Linked DNA regions of Homo sapiens: all the other regions are linked to region 6. Evidence: promoter capture Hi-C in 16 types of primary human blood cells and fetal thymus (Javierre and others, 2016). All regions are on one chromosome and are shown on one strand. Each heading gives the region's core, a stretch centred on a gene start or on the middle of the fragment in contact. The rest is flanking DNA. Distances are from core to core; before and after follow the strand shown. Region 1 holds the start of HIF3A (hypoxia inducible factor 3 subunit alpha). Region 2 has its middle 16 kb from the start of PNMA8C. Region 3 has its middle 4.9 kb from the start of CCDC8. Region 4 has its middle 6.4 kb from the start of PNMA8B. Region 5 holds the start of PPP5C (protein phosphatase 5 catalytic subunit). Region 6 holds the start of IGFL4 (IGF like family member 4). Region 7 has its middle 28 kb from the start of PNMA8B.

The links. Contacts are between HindIII fragments. The CHiCAGO score rates a contact against its expected background, and 5 or more counts as called.
Region 1: the fragment with the promoter of HIF3A here is called in contact with the fragment with the promoter of IGFL4 in region 6 in 4 of 17 cell types (M2 macrophages, M1 macrophages, total CD8 T cells and 1 more); the score reaches 8.8 in M2 macrophages.
Region 2: a contact is called between a fragment that was not itself captured here and the fragment with the promoter of IGFL4 in region 6, in 1 of 17 cell types (M1 macrophages). The highest score is 5.5, in M1 macrophages.
Region 3: a contact is called between a fragment that was not itself captured here and the fragment with the promoter of IGFL4 in region 6, in 2 of 17 cell types (M1 macrophages and M0 macrophages). The highest score is 5.3, in M1 macrophages.
Region 4: a contact is called between a fragment that was not itself captured here and the fragment with the promoter of IGFL4 in region 6, in 1 of 17 cell types (M2 macrophages). The highest score is 5.1, in M2 macrophages.
Region 5: a contact is called between the fragment with the promoter of PPP5C here and the fragment with the promoter of IGFL4 in region 6, in 16 of 17 cell types (M1 macrophages, erythroblasts, total CD4 T cells and 13 more). The highest score is 20.2, in M1 macrophages.
Region 7: a fragment that was not itself captured here is called in contact with the fragment with the promoter of IGFL4 in region 6 in 1 of 17 cell types (endothelial precursors); the score reaches 5.0 in endothelial precursors.

Annotation. Positions count from the first base shown.
Region 1 is chr19:46,295,600-46,298,299 of GRCh38, forward strand. It overlaps HIF3A (hypoxia inducible factor 3 subunit alpha), which reads left to right and starts at 1,443. Exons shown (of 15, transcript NM_152795.4): 1 at 1,443-1,503. The coding sequence starts at 1,478. The HindIII fragment of the contact is 1,538 bases long and covers 729-2,266 here.
Region 2 is chr19:46,443,385-46,446,084 of GRCh38, forward strand. No RefSeq gene overlaps it. Among named protein-coding and RNA genes, the nearest start is that of PNMA8C, 16 kb to the left of the region's middle. The HindIII fragment of the contact is 2,810 bases long and covers 35-2,700 here.
Region 3 is chr19:46,417,154-46,419,853 of GRCh38, forward strand. No RefSeq gene overlaps it. Among named protein-coding and RNA genes, the nearest start is that of CCDC8, 4.9 kb to the left of the region's middle. The HindIII fragment of the contact is 1,589 bases long and covers 487-2,075 here.
Region 4 is chr19:46,500,836-46,503,604 of GRCh38, forward strand. No RefSeq gene overlaps it. Among named protein-coding and RNA genes, the nearest start is that of PNMA8B, 6.4 kb to the left of the region's middle. The HindIII fragment of the contact is 5,709 bases long and covers 1-2,769 here.
Region 5 is chr19:46,345,690-46,348,389 of GRCh38, forward strand. It overlaps PPP5C (protein phosphatase 5 catalytic subunit), which reads left to right and starts at 1,398. Exons shown (of 13, transcript NM_006247.4): 1 at 1,398-1,528. The coding sequence starts at 1,408. RefSeq lists enhancers at 1,236-1,415, 1,516-1,645. The HindIII fragment of the contact is 16,758 bases long and covers 1-2,700 here.
Region 6 is chr19:46,039,591-46,042,290 of GRCh38, forward strand. IGFL4 (IGF like family member 4) reads right to left here and starts at 1,412. Exons shown (of 4, transcript NM_001002923.3): 1 at 1,354-1,412; 2 at 928-978; 3 at 567-826; 4 at 1-346. The coding sequence starts at 1,372. The coding sequence ends at 302. The HindIII fragment of the contact is 377 bases long and covers 1,172-1,548 here.
Region 7 is chr19:46,522,728-46,525,443 of GRCh38, forward strand. It overlaps the pseudogene PPP5D1P. Among named protein-coding and RNA genes, the nearest start is that of PNMA8B, 28 kb to the left of the region's middle. The HindIII fragment of the contact is 3,185 bases long and covers 1-2,716 here.

The DNA of each region.
Region 1 (2,700 bases), core at 193-2,692, 260 kb after region 6:
GCCTTTCACAATCGTTCATTTCTGCACAATCTCTTTTGCACTGAACCTCATCTCATAAAGCCTCTCCTCTCTTTGTGGCAGTGTGAGCCCCATCTGCTCCATCTGCCCAGCAATTCCAGCAGACATAGAAAATCCTCTTTCCTAATGGTTTCAGCAAATGTCTCAGGGTTGATTCTCATTGGGCTAAATTAGGTAACATGCCTTCCCTGAACCAATCACTGTGGCCAGGGAAGCAGACTCAACTGATTAGCCAGGTTTGGATCCTATGTCCATCCCTGGAGCTGGTGAAGGCAGAGCAGTGGCCAAGCCCTATTCAAATTAAATAGATGAAGAGGACAGAGAAGTGGTTTCCCAAAAGAAAACAGAGTGGGGAACTGGCGTGAGCCGGGGAGCCGTGTGGATTCCTGGAGGAAGAGTGTGCTAAGCTGTGGGAACAGCAAGTGCAAAGGCCCTAAGGTGAGCAACTTGCCTGGCAAGTTCAAGGTTCAACAAGGCCACTTCTGCTGTAGTATCCTCTTCCCTGCCAACCAAATCCAGAATAGTGGTCCAACACACACACACACACACACACACACACACACTCTGTTCCTTATCCAACTGTAATGCTTTCACCCTTGCTTGGTACCTTTGTACTTCTCCCTTCATAGTCGACTAGTTAAAAAAAAATACATTTCTCGGCTCTTTTTTGAAGTAGGTGTGATTGAGTTAAAACATATTTACTTGACATAAGCTTAATTATTCATCAATGGGAACCTGAAAAGGGAGTCAGAGAGGCCAAGAGGTTAGGGTGGAGTAGAGGGGGTAGGGAAGGTAAGCTGGGGTGCAGAGGGTGCAGACTGGAGGAATGGGGGCGAAGTGGGGTATGGGACTGGGGTGGCAGGGAGGGGCTGGGGAGAGAGAGAGAAGGGTAGGTGCCAGAGGGCCAAGGATTGTGGAACTGGGGTGGGGTTGGGAGTTGGGGGGTGGGGAGGAGATGTGGGGTACTCTGTGAATACCTTAGAAGGGATAGAGAAGGCAGGGCTAGGGGTTTGGAAGGGGTGGGATTGGAGGTCAGAGGGGCTCAACTGGGGTTAGGAAATGGAAAGGTGAGAAGAGGTGGGGGTTAGAGGCTGGGGACTGGGGTCCAGAGAGCAGAGTGAACTGAGTGGGTTCAGAAGAGTACTGGCGTTGGCACTTCAGAGGCTGGACTAGAGAAGGCGCGTTCAGCCGACGGTGCGGGATACACTGCCGAGGAAGTCCGCGGCGAGGGGCGTGGTTGGGGGGTGTGTATTACACGGTATCCCCCCCTTGCCTTTCCAAGTCTTTCCCTCTGGTTCCGCCTCCTTTTCAGGAGTGACATACCGTTGCCCAATCAGAGCCTCAGGCCTGGCGTGGCACAGCCAACCGCGCGGCGTGGGGAGGAGCTGGGGAGGGGGCTCGCAAGGCCGGGGAGGGGGCTAGGGGCCTCCGAGGGCTCCGGAGCGGCGACTGGCGAGCCATGGCGCTGGGGCTGCAGCGCGCAAGGTACTGAAGTTCGGGGGCAGGAGTTCTGGGAATTGGGGGGCTCTCCTCCTGGAGACCCCTGAGCTGGATTGTTGGGGGGGGTGGGGTTCGCGGGTGCGAGCCAAGAACGCCCCGGGGCGCGCAGTTGGAGGCACATCCCCACCGCACTCTCCACCCTTAGGGACTGCAGGGGTGGGGGATTCCCTACGTCTCTGGCTGCCCCGCCCCTCTGGCCAAGAGCGGCTTCGGGGTTCCCGATTTCTCGCTACCCAAGGCTCATTTACCCTCCTGGTTGGGGGTGGAACTTGGGATTCCTGATAAATTAGGGGTGATTGCATTTGAGCAGTCCCCAGGCTTCTGCGGGAGATATTCGCCCTCCACATATTGATCCCTCTGGCCTCTGAACCCCCCAAAATTGAGGGTATTCTTTGCCACCAGGTGCCTGGGATCCTAGGTGATATGGGATACCCCTAAATGGAGCCTTCCCACATATAGGGAGTCCCTTGGAATGGCATTCAGCTCCTGAGTTCAAGAGAGGAGAGATCTCCTCTAATAGTATGCTTCCTGACACAGTCTCCTAAACATTGGGTTTCCCTAGAAATGGGCAGAGGGGAGCCCCTTTCAGAAGCCGTCTGGGACCCTTCCCAAGAGACTTTTTGTATCCTTTCAAAAGCCAGAGTCACCCCCTTAAATAACAGGGAAACAAGCTGGACCCACTTCCCAAAGTCCAGCCCCTCATCTCACCCCTGCACCCCCATCCTGAGAGACAGGGGAGCCTCATCCAAGCTTTATTTTGGGGAGACTCCATGGCAGGGTGCTGTGAGCCTGCAGGCTGTGATGGGAACGCCCCCTGCCGCAGTACTCAGATGGGGTCATCCCGGGCAGAGGGTGGGTTTCTGGGTTCACTTGCCCAGCAGGTGCAGCTCTGCTGGAACACAGGGGAACCTGTGCCCTGGGGCCGCTGCCGGGGGGTTTTATCTGGCCATGTTCCCATGGGACCCTGGAAAATGTTCTAGGTCCTCAGCTTTCCCTGTCCAATGTGAGGCACCCAGTAAGCCTCACCCCCTTCCCTCCTCCCTGGCTTCTCAGGCCTGATTGGATCCATGCACACCCCATGTTTCTAACCGCCCCCATCCTCTCCCCTGTCCCCTACTCTATTCCAGGCCCTGGCTCTGGGCCTAACAAGGAACTCTATCCCACCCCTTTTGGGCCAGCTGT
Region 2 (2,700 bases), core at 190-2,689, 400 kb after region 6:
AGGCATCACTCCATTGGGAGCCATTTCGGCAGGAAGCTTCTCTGACTGTCCCAAGTCCTCATTCCAATAAACATAAAAACAACAATCATATTATAGGCATTGACATGCATTCTGAAGAACCTTATATTTTGCTCAATAGCATGTTTGTTTTTTGTTGTTCTTTTGTTTTTTTTTTTTTTTTTTGAGACGAAGTCTCGCTCTGTCGCCCAGGCTGGAATGCAGTGGCAAGATCTCGGCTCACTGCAAGCTCCGCCTCCTGGGTTCTGGCCATTCTCCTGCCTCAGCCTCCCAAATAGCTGAGACTACAGGCACCCACCACCATGCCCAGCTAATTTTTTGTATTTTTAGTAGAGACAGGGTTTCACTGTGTTAGCCAGGATGGTCTCAATCTCCTGACCTCGTGATCTGCCCACCTCGGCCTCCCAAAGTGCTGGGATTACAGGTGAGAGCCACCGCGCCCAGCCTGTTTTTTGTTTTTGAGACGGAGCCTCGCTCTATTGCACAGGCTGGAGTGCAGCGGCGTGATCTCAGCTCACTGCAACCTCTGCCTCCCAGGTTCAAGCGATTCTTCTGCCTCAGCCTCCCCAGTAGCTGGGATTACAGGTGTGTGCCACCACACCTGGCTAATTTTTGTATTTGTAGTAGACACGGGGTTTCACCATGCTGGCCAGGCTGGTCTCAAAACTCTTGACCTCAAGTAATCTGCCCACTTCGGCCTCCCAAAATACTGGGATTACAGGCGTGAGCCACTGTGCCTGGTCAGTAGCATGTTAGAATTAAATGAGCCTTTTGGGAAAATTCAGGTGAGGGTAGGTTACCCAAAGACTATGCAGCCACGTTCAAACCTTTGGTGGTTTATGTATTTATTTAGAGACAGGGTCTCACTCCTGTCACCCAGGCTGGAGTGCTGTGGCATGATCATGGCTCAGTGCAGCCTCGACCTCCTAGGCTTGGGTGATTCTCGTGGCCACCTCAGCCTTGTGAGTGGCTGGGACTACAGAGACACACCACCTCACCCAGCTAATTTTTTTTTTTGTATATTTGTATTTTTAGTAGAGACAGGGTTTTGCCATGTCGCCCAGGCTGATCTCAAACTCCTTGGCTCAAGCGATCTTCCTGCCTCAGCCTTCCAAAGTGTTGGGATTACAGGCATGAACCACCACACTCAGCCCTTTGGTGTTTTTTTTGTTTGTTTGTTTGTTTGAGATGGAGTCTCGCTCTGTCACCCAGGCTGGAGTGCAGTGGCGCCATCTCCGGCTCACTGCAAGCTCCACCTCCCGGGTTCACACCATTCTCCTGCCTCAGCCTCCCGAGTAGCTGGGACTACAGGTGCCCGCCACCACGCCCGGCTAATTTTTTTTTTGTAGTTTTAGTAGAGACGGAGTTTCACCGTGTTAGCGGGGATGGTCTCAATCTCCTGACCTCATGATCTGCCCACCTCGGCCTCCCAAAGTGCTGGGATTACAGGCGTGAGCCACCTCTCCTGGTCCTTAATTTTTAAAGTTTTTGTAGAGACGGGGTCCCACCATGTTGCCCCAGCTGGTCTTGAACTCCTGGGCTCAAGTGATCCTCCTGCCTTGGCCTCCCAAAGTGCTGGAATTACAAAGTGCTGGTGACGTGAACCACCTTGCCCAGCTGTGTACACTCTAAATGGTTCATTTTATATTATTTCTAAATGGTTCATTTTATATTATGTGAATTTCACCTCAATACAAAACTTTTTTTTTTTTCAGACGGAGTTTCCCTCTTGTTGCCCAGGCTGGGGTGCAATGGCACGATCTCGGCTCACTGCAACCTACGCCACCCCAGGTTCAAGCGATTCTCCTGCCTCAGCCTCCCGAGTAGCTGGGATTACAGGCACGCACCACCATGCCCGGCTAATTTTGTGTTTTTAGTAGAGATGGGGTTTCACCATGTTGGTCATGCTGGTCTCAAACTCCCGACCCCAGGTGATCCACCTGTCTCAGCCTCCCAAAGTGCTGGGATTACAGGCGTGAGCCACCGCGCCCGGCTTTTTTGTTGTTGTTGTTTTTTGTTTTTTTTAATTGACTCAGCTTTGGGCTTGAACTGTTAGAATGATGGTGCGTCCATTCAGTGAGATGAGGAAGCTCTAGGGAAAATGAACTTGGGAGTGGGGAATCCCATTTTGAATGTCTTAAATTTGATATGCCTTGTAGGCTTCCAAGCCGAGTTAGATATATGAGCCTGGAGTTCAGAGATGGGGTGGAGATAAAAATTTAGAAGCCATTGGCACACGGGAAATATCTTAAGCCATGGAGCTAGATGAGCTCATTTAGGCCAGAGGTGTCCAATCTTTTGGCTTCCCTGGGCCACACTGGAAGAAGAATTGTCTTGGGCAACACATAAAATACGCTAACACTAACAATAGCTGATGAGCTAAAAAAAAAAAAAAATCGCAAAAAAAAAAAATCTCATTTTTTGTTGTTGTTGTTGTTTTTTGTTTTCGAGACGGAGTTTCGCTCTTGTTGCCCAGGCTGGAGTGCAATGGCCCAGTCTCGGCTCACTGCAACCTCCACCTCTGGGTTCAAGTGATTCTCCTTCCTCAGCCTCCCAAGTAGCTGGGATTATAGGCATGCACCACCACACCCGGCTAATTTTGTATTTTTAGTAGAAACAGGGTTTCTCCATGTTGGTCAGGCTGGTCTCGAACTCCCGACCTCAGGTGATCCGCTCGCCTCA
Region 3 (2,700 bases), core at 31-2,530, 380 kb after region 6:
CCAGGAATTGGAGACCAGCCTGGGCAACATAGCGAGACTCCGGTCTCCACAAAAAATTTAAAAATTAGCCGAATATTATGGTGTGCGCCTGTGGTCTGAGCTACTCGGGAGACTGAGGTGGGCCTATCGCTTGAGCCCGGGAGGTCAGGGCTGCAGGAAGCGGAGATCGCCCATCTGCACGCCAGCCTGGGCAACAGAGCGAGACTCCATCTCAAAAAAAAAAAAAATTGCCAGCCCCTGAACGGTTCAGCTGTGGGTGTTTTTAATTGCACAGATCTCTGGCAGGTGAGACCCTTCTCCAGCCATCACAGAATAAAATAATAAAAACGAGAACTGTAGCCTCACTTTTGCATTTGTTTAAAATAAATGGAAAGTTGGAAAAGAATGGGGAAGAGAAACAAAACACGGCTGAAATCCCTCTACCCAGCTACATTTTGTTGCCATTTAAAAAAAAAATGGGACACGCGGGCCAGGGGCAGTGGCTCAAGCTTGTAATCCAAGCAATTTGGGAGGCCTACGCGGGCGATCGCCTGAAGTCAGGAGTTCGAGACCAGCCTGGCCAATATGATGAAACCCCACCGTCTCTACTAAAAGTACAAAAATTAGCTGGGCACGATGGCAGGCGCCCGTAATCTCAGCTACTAGGGAGGCTGAGGCAGGAGAATCGCTTGAACCTGGGAGGCACAGGTTGCAGTGAGCTGAGGTGGTGCCACTGTACTCCAGCTTGGGCAACAGAGTAACACCCTGTCTCAAAAAAGGATACACGGTCAGAAAAAGCAAAAGTTACAGAAAGGTAAATTTTTTTCAAAAAAGGATTCTTCTCCCCAAACCCCACCTTCCAGCCTCTCCCCAAAAAGTAACCAGTTAAATATCTCTGTATTTTTCCAGAGAAAAAATGCTTGCATTAGTGTATGTGTTAATTTTATTTTATTTTATTAATTTATTTTTTTTTTTTTGAGACGGAGTTTTGCTCTTATTGCCCAGGCTAGAGTGCAATGGCGCGATCTCCGACTCACCACAACCTCCACCTCCCGCGTTCAAGCAATTCTCCCGCCTCAGCCTCCAGAGCAGCTGGGATTACAGGCCAACCCACCCAGCTAATTTTGTATTTTTAGTAGAGACGGGATGTCTCCATGTTGATCAGGGTGGTCTCGATCTCGAACCTCAGGTGATCCACCCACCTTGGCCTCCCAAAGTGCTGGGATTACAGGCGTGAGCCACTTCACCTGGCTTTTTTTTTTATGTTAATTTTAGAATTTATCTCACAGAGATTTTTTTCCCCCATCATCCTAAATTATTTTCATCACAGCACTTACCACTTTCTGTTTTTGTTTTTTTTTTTCTTTGAGACAGGGTCTCACTCTGTCACCCAGGCTGAAGTGCAGTGGCATGATCATGGCTCACTGTAACCTCGAAATCCTGGGCTCAAGCAATCCTCCCACCTCAGCCTTCTGAGTGTCTGGGGCTACAGGTGTGTGCCACCATGCCTGGCTATTTTTAAAAATTTTTTGTAGAGAGGTATTCTCATTATGTTGCCCAGACCGGTCTTGAACTCCTGGCCTCAACTGATGCTCCTGCCTCTGGGTCTCAAAGTGCTGGGATTACAGGCGAGAGGCACCACGCTGGGCCTATTTGTATGTACTTATTTATTGTTTCACCCTATTAGAATACTATCCCCATGAGGTCTGGGATATGAGTCTGGTTTGTTCACTGCTGAAGTCTCAGCATCTAGAACACTTCAGGTAGGAGCTACAAATATTTATTAACTGAATGAATGCTGAGAATTGCACTAGATTTATTACTATAAAATGTGTTTTCACTTAATGTCCTTCTGTATCAGTGCTTGCCAGTCTGTTTTTGTTTGTCACGACAGCTTCCATCTTTATTCCTTCAAGCCAGGAACGTGATACTGATAATAATTCATTTTTACTGAGCACCTACTTTATCCTTGGCCCTGTGCATTTTCTCATTCAGTCCTTAGAACCCTTCCTTAAGCAAATGTTATTCCCATTTTTCAGATTAAAAAAAAAAACTGAGTCCAAGGAAAGTCACACAGCTAGGTAGTGGCAGAGCCAAGCTTTGAATCACTCAGGTTTATTAGATTCCAATCTCCACACACTTTTTGTTTGTTTGTTTGTTGTTTGTTTGTTTGTTTTGAGACAGGGTCTTGCTCTGTCGCCCAGTGATACGATTTCTGCTCACTTCAGCCTCGACCTCCTGGGCTCAAGCTATCCTCCCATCTCAGCTTCCCAAGTAGCTGGGACTACAGGCCCATGTCACCATGCCCAGCTAATTTTTTGTAAAGTTGGAGTTTCGCCATATTTTCCAGGCTAATCTCGAACTCCTGGGCTCAAGTGATCCTCCTACCTCAGCCTTCCAAAGTGCTGGCATTACAGATGGAAGCCACCATGCCTGGCCCCAATCTCCACACTCAGTGGGGTGGATCGCTTGAGCCCAGGAGTTCAAGACCAGCCTGGGCAACATAGCAAAACCCCATCTCTACAAAAATAGTACAAAAAATTAGCTGGACGTGGTGGTGCAAGCCTGTAGTCCCATCTACTCGGGAGGCTGAGGTGGGAGGAGCATCTGAGCATAGGATGTCCAGGCTGCAGTGAGCCATTATCGCACCACTACACCCCAGCCTGGGTGACAGAGTGAGACGCTGTCTCAAAAAAGTTTAGAAAAAAGAGGCCAAGGGCT
Region 4 (2,769 bases), core at 73-2,572, 460 kb after region 6:
CTTTGTCTCTTCATGGCTCTGTGGCCCCAGTTTATCGTGAGGTTGTGAGGATTTAAGCGGGATGTGTGTGTGTGTGTGTGTGTGTGTGTGTGTGTGTGTGTGTGTGTTGGAACAGTGCCTGGCCCTGAGTGTTACTGGGACAAAGATTTCATTCTCACCGTGGGACAGGATGAGGTGGCACGCTGGAATGCAGAGGGGACTCCCCAGGAGAGCGTCTGGTTTATAAGAGGACCCAAAGGTACAGAGGCTGAATTATGTCTCTTTAAAATTCATATGTTGGAGCCTGGGTGTGGTGGCTCACGCGTGTAATCCCATCATTCTGGGAGGCTGAGGCAGGTGGATTGCTTGTGGTCAGGAGTTCGAGACCAGCCTGGCCAACATGGCGAAACCCCATCTCTACTAAAAATACAAAAATTAGCCAGGTGTGATGGTGAGTGGCTGGAATCCCAGCTATTCAGGAGGCTGAGGCAGGAGAACCGCTTGAACCTGGAAGGCGGAGGTTGCAGTGAGCTGAGATTGTACCACTGAACTCCAGCCTGGGTGACAGGCATGACTGTCTCTAAATAAATAAATAAAATAAAATAAAATAAAATAAAATAAAATAAAATAAAATAAAATTCATATGTTGGGCTGTGTGTGGTGGCTCACACCTGTAATCCCAGCACTTTGGGAGGTTAAGGCAGGCAGATCACTTGAGGCCAGGAGTTCAAGACCAGCCTGCCCAACATGGTGAAACCCCATCTCTACCAAAAATACCAAAATTAGCTGGTCATGGCCAGGCATGGTGGCTCATGCCTGTAATCCCAGCACTTTGGGAGGCTGAAGTGGGTGGATCATGAGGTCAGGAGATCAAGACCATCCTGGCTAACACAGTGAAACCCCGTCTCTACTAAAAATACGCAAAATTAGCCAGGTGTGGTGGTGGGCACCTGTAGTCCCAGCCACTTGGGAGGCTGAGGCAGGAGAATGGTGTGAACCCGGGAGGCAGAGCTTGCAGTGAGCCGAGATTGCGCCACTGCACTCCAGCCTGGGCAACAGAGTGAGACTCCCGTCTGAAAAAAAAAAAAAGAAAAGAAAAATTAGCTGGTCATGTTGGCAGGTGCCTGTAATCCCAGCTACTCAGGAGGCTGAGGTGGGAGGATTGCTTGGGCCTGCCAGGTCGAGGCTGCAGTGAGCCATGACTGAGCCACTGCACTCCAGCCTGGATGACAGAGTAAGACCCTGTCTCAAAAAAAAAGAAAAAAAAAAAAAAGGATAGACTATGAACCCCAAGCCCTGTGCACAGAAGATCTTACAGGGACCAGCCAGGCAGGGACATCAGGATCCCCAACATGTCCTGCCCAGTCCCGCCCTGGGCATTTCCCCTGGAATCATGATCTCTTCTTAGGCAGAGATGAGCCTATGACTGACCAAGCCACTGCCTGTAAGGTTCCAATGGAAACAGCTGGAAGAAAGGGCGTAAAGCGTTCAAGGCCGGGCGTGGTGGCTCACGCCTGTAATCCCAGCACTTTGGGAGACCGAGGCGGGTGGATCACATGAGGCCAGGAGTTCAAGACCAGCCTGGACAACATGGTGAAACCCCGTCTCTACTAAAAATACAAAAATTAGCTGGGCCTGATGGCATGCACTTGGAGTCCCAGCAACTCAGGAGACTGAGGTGGGAGGATCGCTTGAAAAAATTGTTCGAAATTCTTCTCCCCCTCATTTTGTGTTCGAGAAAAATACAAGTGAATCTGCTTAACTGGAAATGGCGCTATTGGAGCAAGGGTTCTCTTTCTTTGTTTTCGTTTTTTTTTTTTCGAGACGGAGTCTCACTCTGTTGCCCAGGCTGGAGTGCAGTGGCGCAATCTCAGCTCACTGCAAGCTCCGCCTCCCGGGTTCACGCCATTCTCCTCCCTCAGCCTCCCAAGTAGCTGGGACTACAGGTGCCTGCCACCACATCCGGCTAATTTTTTAATTTTTTTAGTAGAGACGGGGTTTCACCGTGTTAGCCAGGATGATCTCAATCTCCTGACCTCGTGATCCGCCCGCCTCAGCCTCCCAAAGTGCTGGGATTACAGGTGTGAGCCACCGCCCCCGGCCAGAGCAAGGGTTCTCAAAGTGTGGTCTGGGGACCTCTACGGGTTGCAAGGACATTCCAGGGCATCCATCAGATAAAAACCATTTTCATAATACTAAACCATTATTTGTCTTTTCACTCTTACTCTCTTACCAGTGTTCAGTGGAATTTTCCAGAGGCTACATGCCGTGCCGTATTGCAGCTGACTGAACCAGGAGGCAGGTCAAGGATTGTTGAGCCAGATATCAAAGTGAGTTGAAAAACACCAAAATACTACAGTGCCACTCTTCTCACTAACTTTGTTTTGTTTTGGGAAATATATCTATTTTTAGGGCTAGGCAAGGTGGCTCATACCTGTTATCCCAGTACTTTGGGAGACCAAGACAGGAGGATTGCCTGAGCCCAGGAGTTCGAGACCAGCCTGGACAACATAAGGAGACCCCATCTCTACAAAAAATACGAGAAAAATTAGTCAGTTGTGGTGGCCCATGCCTGTAATACCAGCTACTGGGGAGGCTGAGGTAGGAGAATTGCTTGAACCTGGGAGGTTTGAGGCTGCAGTGAACCATGATTGTGCCACCGCACTTCAGCCTGGGAAACAGAGTGAGACCCTGTCTCAAAAAAAAAAAACCTATTTATATATGTTATCTACATGAGTGTGTAACATGTTTGTTACTAGGCAGGAGATTTTCAGGCTCCAGATGGCCCTA
Region 5 (2,700 bases), core at 148-2,647, 310 kb after region 6:
TGCTGGGGGCCAGTAGGAGAGATGGGGTTGGACTAACAAGAGGTTTGGGAGTGGGATAGATAGGTTTAGGAGTGTGCTTCCAGGAGGGGATCCAGAGCCTTACAGGACTTAGTGCTACATGAGGGCTTAGAAAGGACAGACTGGAAGCGTGTACGGCGGGTGGGGATTGGCAAAGGGGTGGAATCTGGATATTAGACTATTCAGCCTGAGGTTAAGACTATTCAGGGTCTCCTAATCAGGAGTTTGGGTTTTCTCCTAAGGGTGCTGGGGCCATGGAAGCCTGGGAGCGAGAGTGTGCCATGGTTTTATCATGTCTTAGAAAGATCCCTCGGCCGGGCACGGTGGCTCACGCCTGTAATCCCAGCACTTTGGGAGGCCGAGGCGGGCGGATAGCTTGAGGTCGGCAGTTCGAGGCCAGCCTGGCCAACGTGGTGAAACCCGTTTCTACTAAAATACAAAAATTAGCCGGGCATGGTGGCGGGCGCCTGTAATCCCAGCTACTTGGGAGGCTGAGGCAGAAGAATCGCTTAAACCGGGAGGCGGAGGTTGCAGTGAGCCTAGATGGCGCCACTGCACTCCAGCCTGGGCGACAGAGGGAGACTCCCTCTCAAAAAAAAAAAAAAAAAAAAAAAAATGTGAAGGGTAAACTGGAGGGAGGCAGAGTGCATGCAATCAATGCTGTGATCTCAGACAAGAGAATCTGTAAAAACACAAACAGGAGAGTTTATTTGAAGATTCAGGATTTGGGAAGCTGAACACAGGAAGAAAGGAGATGGTGCAACACACTTCTAAGCCTTGCTCAGGACTTGAAATCCAGAGTGCCTTCAGTTAAAAACTCAAACACTGACCCTCAAGGTTGGACCCTTTTTGGCTTGAGAAACCACTAATTTTTCAGAGATGGGTAACTGAGACCCTAGAGAGGAAGGGAAGATTTGTTCAAGGTCACACAGGTAGTCGACAATAGGGCTCGACGCCCGGGTCCGGCTCCGCGTAGGGCATGGCGCTGCCTTGCAAAACAGCCACACCCGCCAGCGACATTCACAACCCACCCCCCAACCCTAGAGGACAGCGGGGAAATCCCACTTTCAGAACCGAGAAACTTTTTACAGCCTTGGAACACGGTAACTTTGGGAGGAGAGGCCACACCAGGTCTGTTTCCCCGCGCGCCCCTTCTCTCATTCCCTATTGGCTCTCTCTACCAGGGGTACCGTCTGGGGAACCTCTGGTCACCTTGTCCTCCGCGCGCTCTGTGGCGAAAGGGACCTGCGCAGGCGCGTGAAGGGCGCCTTCAGGGCCCGCGCTTTACGACACTTGTGCGGCAGCGGCGGCGGCCACCCGGCGCTCCTTCGCGACGGTTCGGCCGGGTGCCGCTGGCGGCCGTTGCCAGGGTAGGGGTCGCTTTGCGGCATGGCGATGGCGGAGGGCGAGAGGACTGAGTGTGCTGAGCCCCCCCGGGACGAACCCCCGGCTGATGGAGCTCTGAAGCGGGCAGAGGAGCTCAAGACTCAGGCCAATGACTACTTCAAAGGTGCGCCCGCCTGGCAGGGAGGGTGGACAGTGGCCCAGGCTGAGGGGTGCCGGGCCCGCGCGGAACCATAGCAACGCGGAGCTGCAGCCTGGGCGCGGGGCAGACACTACCAAGTGACCGGGCGTGGGGAGGCCCAGGATGGCGCTGCCAAGGAGCGACATAGGGGGCTTCGGAGAGTGATACCTAGGAGTGGCGTGCGGAGCGGGTGCTACTCAGTGGAGAGACTGAGGAGGGCGCCACCAATTGTGGGGCGAGAGGGGGACTGGAATGAGGGCGCTACCAAACGTGAGGCCTGTAGAGGGCGCTACCAGGCAGTGACATGTGGTGGGGGAGTGATTGATGGCGCTACCAAATGGGGAGTCCTGGGGTGGGTGCCGCCAAGTGGGGGGTAGAGGGGGCACAGCCCCAATAGAGAAGGCAATCGTGGGGGTGGGGAATGGATCATTAGATGGGGGGAACAAGGAAGTAGGAGATTTGGGCTGACCCGAGGAAAAGGAATGTGATGGTGGGGGCCTTGGGAGTAAGGGTGGGGATCCTTAAGAATAGTATCACTTAGAATATTGAGAGTCAAGTGTGGGGCACCCATTCATTCATTAATTCAACAAATATTTATTGAGTACCTGTTATGTGCCAAGGACTGTGCTTGACTTTGGGGATATAGCAGTGAATGAGACAGATGTGGCCCTGTCCTTAGCTTGTAATTTTGCAGGTGAACCAGACATGAAAAAAAAAAAAACAAAAAAAAACCATGTAAATAAGTAAAATACTTAAATTGTGATGAGTGCTTTGAAAGCAAACCAGCAGTGTGATGAAGTAGAGAATAAGGGTTGGAGGCTACTTTAGATAGGGTAGTGGGGGAAGGCCTTACTGAGCAGGAGGCGTTTAAGCTGAAACTCACAGAGGGAGAACTGGAGAGGAGTGTTCCAGGGAGGTAAAGCAGCCTGTGCAAAGGCCCTGGGATGGGGAATGAAAGGGTACTGGCATGGCTGGGGCTTTGGCTACTTAGGGGGAGACCAATAACAAGATGAGATTAGGACAGAGGCCAGATCATGCAGGGTCTCCGTGAGTCATTACAAAGACCAGTTTGGAATTTTTTTTTTTTTTTTTTTTTTGAGACGGGAGTTTTGCTCTTTTTGCCCAGGCTAGAGTGCAATGGCGCAATCTCGGCTCAC
Region 6 (2,700 bases), core at 162-2,661:
TTGAAGAGGTCCTTCACATCCCTTGTAAGTTGGATTCCTAGGTATTTTATTCTCTGTGAAGCAATTGTGAATGGGAGTTCACTCATGATTTGGCTCTCTGTTTGTCTGTTGTTGGTGTATAAGAATGCTTGTGATTTTTGTACATTGATTTTGTATCCTGAGACTTTGCTGAAGTTGCTTATTTGCACTCCAGCCTGGGGGACAGAGTGAAACTCTGTCACAACAACAACAAAATCAATGCAGTATAATTACCAAGTATTAGATTCTAGAGTGATCTGTGACTCTGCTACCCCAGAACAGTCTAGATGAGGTCAGATCTTGACACAGGGCTTTTTGGGTGGTATTCCTGCAGAAGGAGAGAAGTGGGAGAGGGGAATAAGAGGGAGGGTGGTAGCAGCAGTGGCGGGGAAGGAACAGAGACATGGAGAAAGACAGAGTTGCATGGTTACTGAGAGATGGGAAGGTATGGAACCCAGCAGAGACTGCACATCTGGGTGGGACATGGACAACCAAGCTCCATTCCCTACTCCCCCCTCCCACAGCCTGGACTGGAGTCAGATCCTTACCTGGGCACAGATCCTGGTGATAGGGGAGGACTTGCAATCTGGCTTCATGCCTGGGACCTTGAACCTCACAACTGTCTGGTTCTGAGAGCCCAAAGACTCCAGGCAGCAGTGCTGGAAGCAGGGCCAGAAGGTGCAGCTGGAGCCGCAGAGCCGGGTCTGGTTCAAGTCTAGGATGACACCGTCATCACAGCACTGCTCCAAGGGGTTGTAGGTCCACTCCCCGCACCTGGGCGCTGGCTGGCATAGCCACAGTCTAAGATCTGGAAGAGTCGGGGCTGGATGGGCTGCAAGGACCAGCCTAGGACCACCTCCCCACCAACCTTAATGCTGTTCTCTCCTCCCTCACTGCATCTGTTCTCACCTGTGACTCCTTCTGAGTTTGAACCCAAAAGTTCAAAAATGAAGATGGCAGCTGAGAAGCAGAAGGAGAGCGAGAATGATTCTGAGGTCACTAGGTCTTGACCACGGGGCACAGGATGATGTCTCTGAGCTTCTCTGGTTGCTGTTAACAGCTCAGAGTGGATTTTGGGACTGGCTGTGGGTGCAGGTCCTGGGGACTGGGCTTGGCAGGTGAGGAAAGGCAGGGAGGGCTCTGGGAAAAGTTAAGCTTCTGGAATTTGCAGTTCAGGAGACAGATTACAATGCAGTCACAGATGACATAGCAGTGATTATGAGGTGGGACACCAATAATTAAATAGGGAAGAGAGAATTAACTTTGAAGTTCAGAAATAATTAGGGATGTGATATCATTAGGGATTAGCTTAGCCTAGGGCTGGGGTCTCCTTACCAGAAATTCTGGGCACCATGGGTTAGGCTTCAGAGCAGCGGACGAGGGAGCAGCAGTGGAAATGGGTCAGTGACTTTACATAGGGGCTTATATAGGATATGAACTTACCGCCATTTAGGGAGGTGTGCAGAAGGAGTGGTTTCTTGGGAAGAGTTAGGCAAAAAGAGCTGCAGGGAACATAAATAATTCATCAAAAGCTTAATGAGATGCTTCTGGACCTGTTCCAAGTGGTTGCTGCCTCCTCAGACCCTTCAGATCCTCAGGGTAAAGGCTACCCAGGAACCTATCTAAGCTTTGACTCTGCTGAGTGTCTTTCTTTGAACACCGCCCAAGGGAAAACCACTTGGAAGATATTCCTTAACTCTTGCTTATCTAAGATCAAATTACTCACCAAACACCGGCTGTCTCTAGGCTCCCCATATTCCTCCACCCTGAAGTTTCAAGGAGTCCCTCTACTCCCCGTCTCAGTTCACCTGCAGACCTGCACTGTCTATAATTTTTCAGAGTCACGTAGGAGAATTTGTGAAGTTGCAGCATAATCTAGAAGAACAGCAGGGGCTGCAAAACTGTGCCAGGGAGAACAACAACAACAAAAATAGGCGGTGGTAGGATGGATCTCTGGGATTCCAGATAGGAAAGCAGCACCTTTTTTTTTTTTTTGGTTTGTGGAGTGCCTTGTCCAAGAAAATGCTCCTGTGTGTCTCACTGTGTGATGGGATTACATGTGGCGTATTTTTAGAGCATGCCCCTCCATTTTCCACTGGTTTCTTCCCTGTGTCACAGTGAGAAGGGTGGGAGGGTGAAAGAAGGATAAGGCACAGGTATTAGAGCTTTGTAAAAGTGCATTGTTAGTATAGACTCTCTAGAGTCTCTTCCTCCTCCCTCCTCTCTCTCTTTTTTTTTTTTTTTTTTTGAGACACCGTATCTCTCTGTCTCCCAGGCTGGAGGGCAGTGGTGCTATCTTTGCTCACTGTAACCTTTGCCCCCCAAGTTGAAGCCATCCTCCCACCTCAGCCTCTTGAGTAGCTGGGACTACAGGCAGGCACCTCCTGGCCTGGCTAATTTTTTTGTATTTTTCATAGAGTTAGGGTCCTACAATGTTCTGGTCTTGGAATCCTGAGCTCAAGCAATCCACCTGCCCCAGCCTCCCAAAGTGCATTGATTTTGTTGTTGTTGTGCTTATTTGCACTCCAGCCTGGCCTCTCCTTTCTTGACTGGATGTCCAAGTCTTCGGTATTGATTTCATGCAATAAACTAGCTCTCCTCGCCTATTTCTGCAGTTGCGTATTTGCATAGATATGTCTGTTTGTCTGCTTATCAATATGCCTTCTCCTTTCCCACACATCC
Region 7 (2,716 bases), core at 184-2,683, 480 kb after region 6:
GCAATGGCGTGATTATGGCTCACTGTAGCCTTGACCTCCTGGCCTGTAGTGATCCTCCCGTGTTAGTCTGCCAAGGAGCTGGGATTACAGGTGTGAGCCAGGGCACCCAGACTTCAGTATGAAGTTTTCTCTCCCTTCTCTTACCTTTCTCATATAAATCCTGTTTTGCTTTTGAACGTTGACAACAGTCCTATGACCATCTCCCTCCCCTTTGCATGCCAGTGTCCAAAACAAAATCAGATCCAATGAATAAATATTTAAAAGTTTGTTGTCATTAAAAAAAAGTGGGGACAGGGCACAATCCAGGAGACCTCAACCCAGGTAGTAAGAAGCTCAGAGGCATGTTGTTACAGGATGGCTGAGAAAGCAAAAATCAGGAAGTGGTTTAACCTTTACAGTGACTGTCTATACAGTGGAGGTTTCCAGATTGCACGGGACTGGTTAAAAGCAATCCTCTTATATCATTTGGGGAAGGCAACTTAAGTTTCGTTTATGATTATCAGAGGCATTTGTAAGAAATAACCTAAGCTGGCTGGGTGCGGTGGCTCACCCCTGTAATCCCAGCACTTTGGGAGACTGAGGCAGACAGATCACTTGAGGTCAGGAGTTTGAGACCAGCCTGAGCAACATGGTGAAACCCCGTCTCTACTAAAAAAAAAAAAATACAAAATACAAAAATTAGCAGGGCGTGGTGGTGCGTGCCTGTAATCCCAGCTACTTGGCAGGCTGAAGCACAAGAATTGCTTGAACCCCGGAGATGGAGGCTGCAGTGAGCAGAGATCATGCCACTATACTCCAGCCTGGGTCACAGAGCAAGATTCCATGAAAGAAAGAAAGAAAGAAAGAAAGAGAGAAAGGAAAGGAGAAAGGAAAGAAAGGGAGAGAGATAGCCGGGCGTGGTGGCTCACGCCTGTAATCCCAGCACTTTGGGAGGCCAAGGTGGGCGGATCACGAGGTCAGGAGATTGAGACCATCCTGGCTAACATGGTGAAACCCCGTCTCTATTAAATATACAAAAAATTAGGTGGCGGGCGCCTGTAGTTCCAGCTACTCGGGAGGCTGAAGCAGGAGAATGGCGTGAACCCAGAAGGCGGAACTTGCAGTGAGCCGAGATCGCACCACTGAACTCCAGCCTGGGCGACAGAGCCAGACTCCATCTCAGAAAAAAAAAAAAAAAACAAGGGAGAGAGATTGAGAGAGAGATCGAGATCTAAGTTGAGTTTCGCTTACATTCAAAAGTCAGAGTACCTTAGGTTTTGCTTATGTGGCCTGATTTTGTCTTCTTGGGGAATTCTCAGTCCGGATCCACCCCCCCTAGTTTTGTGTGTGTGTGTGTGAAACAGGGTCTCGCTCGGTTGCCCAGGCTGGAGTGAATGGCACGATCGCAGCTCACTGTAGCCTTAACCTCCTGTGCTCAGGTGATCCTGTTGCCTCAGCCTCGCAAGTAGCTGGGACCACAGGCATGCACCACTTTGTGCAGCTAATTTTTTTTTTTTTACTTTTATAGAGATGGAGTCTTGCCATGTTGCCCAGGCTGGTCTCAAACTCCTGGGCTCAAGGATCCTCCCAATTTGGCCTCCCAAAGTGTTGAGATTACAGGTGTGAGCCACTGCGCCTGGCTCCCCCCATTTTATTTTAACAACTTTCCCCTTTTGACATAGCAAGCTGAGGGGGTAATGAAATCGTATAGCATTACTTTCTGGGAGTGCTATTGGCTGGGACAGATGGGTGTATAGTCATTTTTGATAGCTGCATAGTCATCTTAGACATATGTGGTAGAGTCCTTAGGTTCTCCAAGTTGTCTAATGCAGATGGGTGTCATTAGTTGCATCAGTGGCTGTTGAGAGGCATTGGAAACCCTTAAGAGGATGCAACTCCCAGGGAGGTTAATATCATGACTAGGAGGAGAATAATATAGCCAAGGGTTGGAAAATTCACCAGAGGAGAGATTCCCAGGAGCCAAGATGTAACCAACTAAATAAATAAATGGAAAAAGTATCACCTATCTGATAAGATTTACATCTGTTCTTTAAAATCCTCTGAAGTGTGGGCAAAAATTCTTGATATATTAACACAGAAATGACAGCTTCATTCATTATACCTCCTTTTTGGGCAGTTAGAGTAGCTCAGACTCATACATTTTGTGAAATTATTGAAGCAAGGCTAGAAACCTCGGTTTGTAAGCCTTGGAGGAAATTAACAGTGTCATTGAAGTTTTTTTCTAAAGTTTTAGAGCATTTATAATAGCCCCTTCCTTCCTTCCTTCTTTTTCTTTTTCTGTTTCTGTTTTTGTTTTTTGATATGGAGTCTTGCTCTCTTGCCCAGGCTGGAGTGCAGGAGTGCAGTGGCATGATCTTGGACCACTGCAACCTCCCCTTCCTGGGTTCAAGCAATTCTCCTGCCTCAGCCTCCCAAGTACCTAGGACTACAGGTGTGCACCACCACACCCAGCTAATTTTAGTATTTTTAGTAGAGACGAAGTTTCACCATGTTGGCCAGGCTGGCATTGAACTCCTTACCTCAAGTGATCCACCCGCCTCGGCCTCCCAAAGTGCTGGGATTACAGGTGTCAGCCACTGTGCCTGGCCCATAATAGCCTTTTCTAAATCAGAGACACCAATACAAGGAATTGGAGCTCTGTCCACCAAAGGAAGTCAGTGTCATGTGTAGTGAGAGGGTTGGTGCTTCTTGGATTTCTCTAACGGTGCTATCTTCT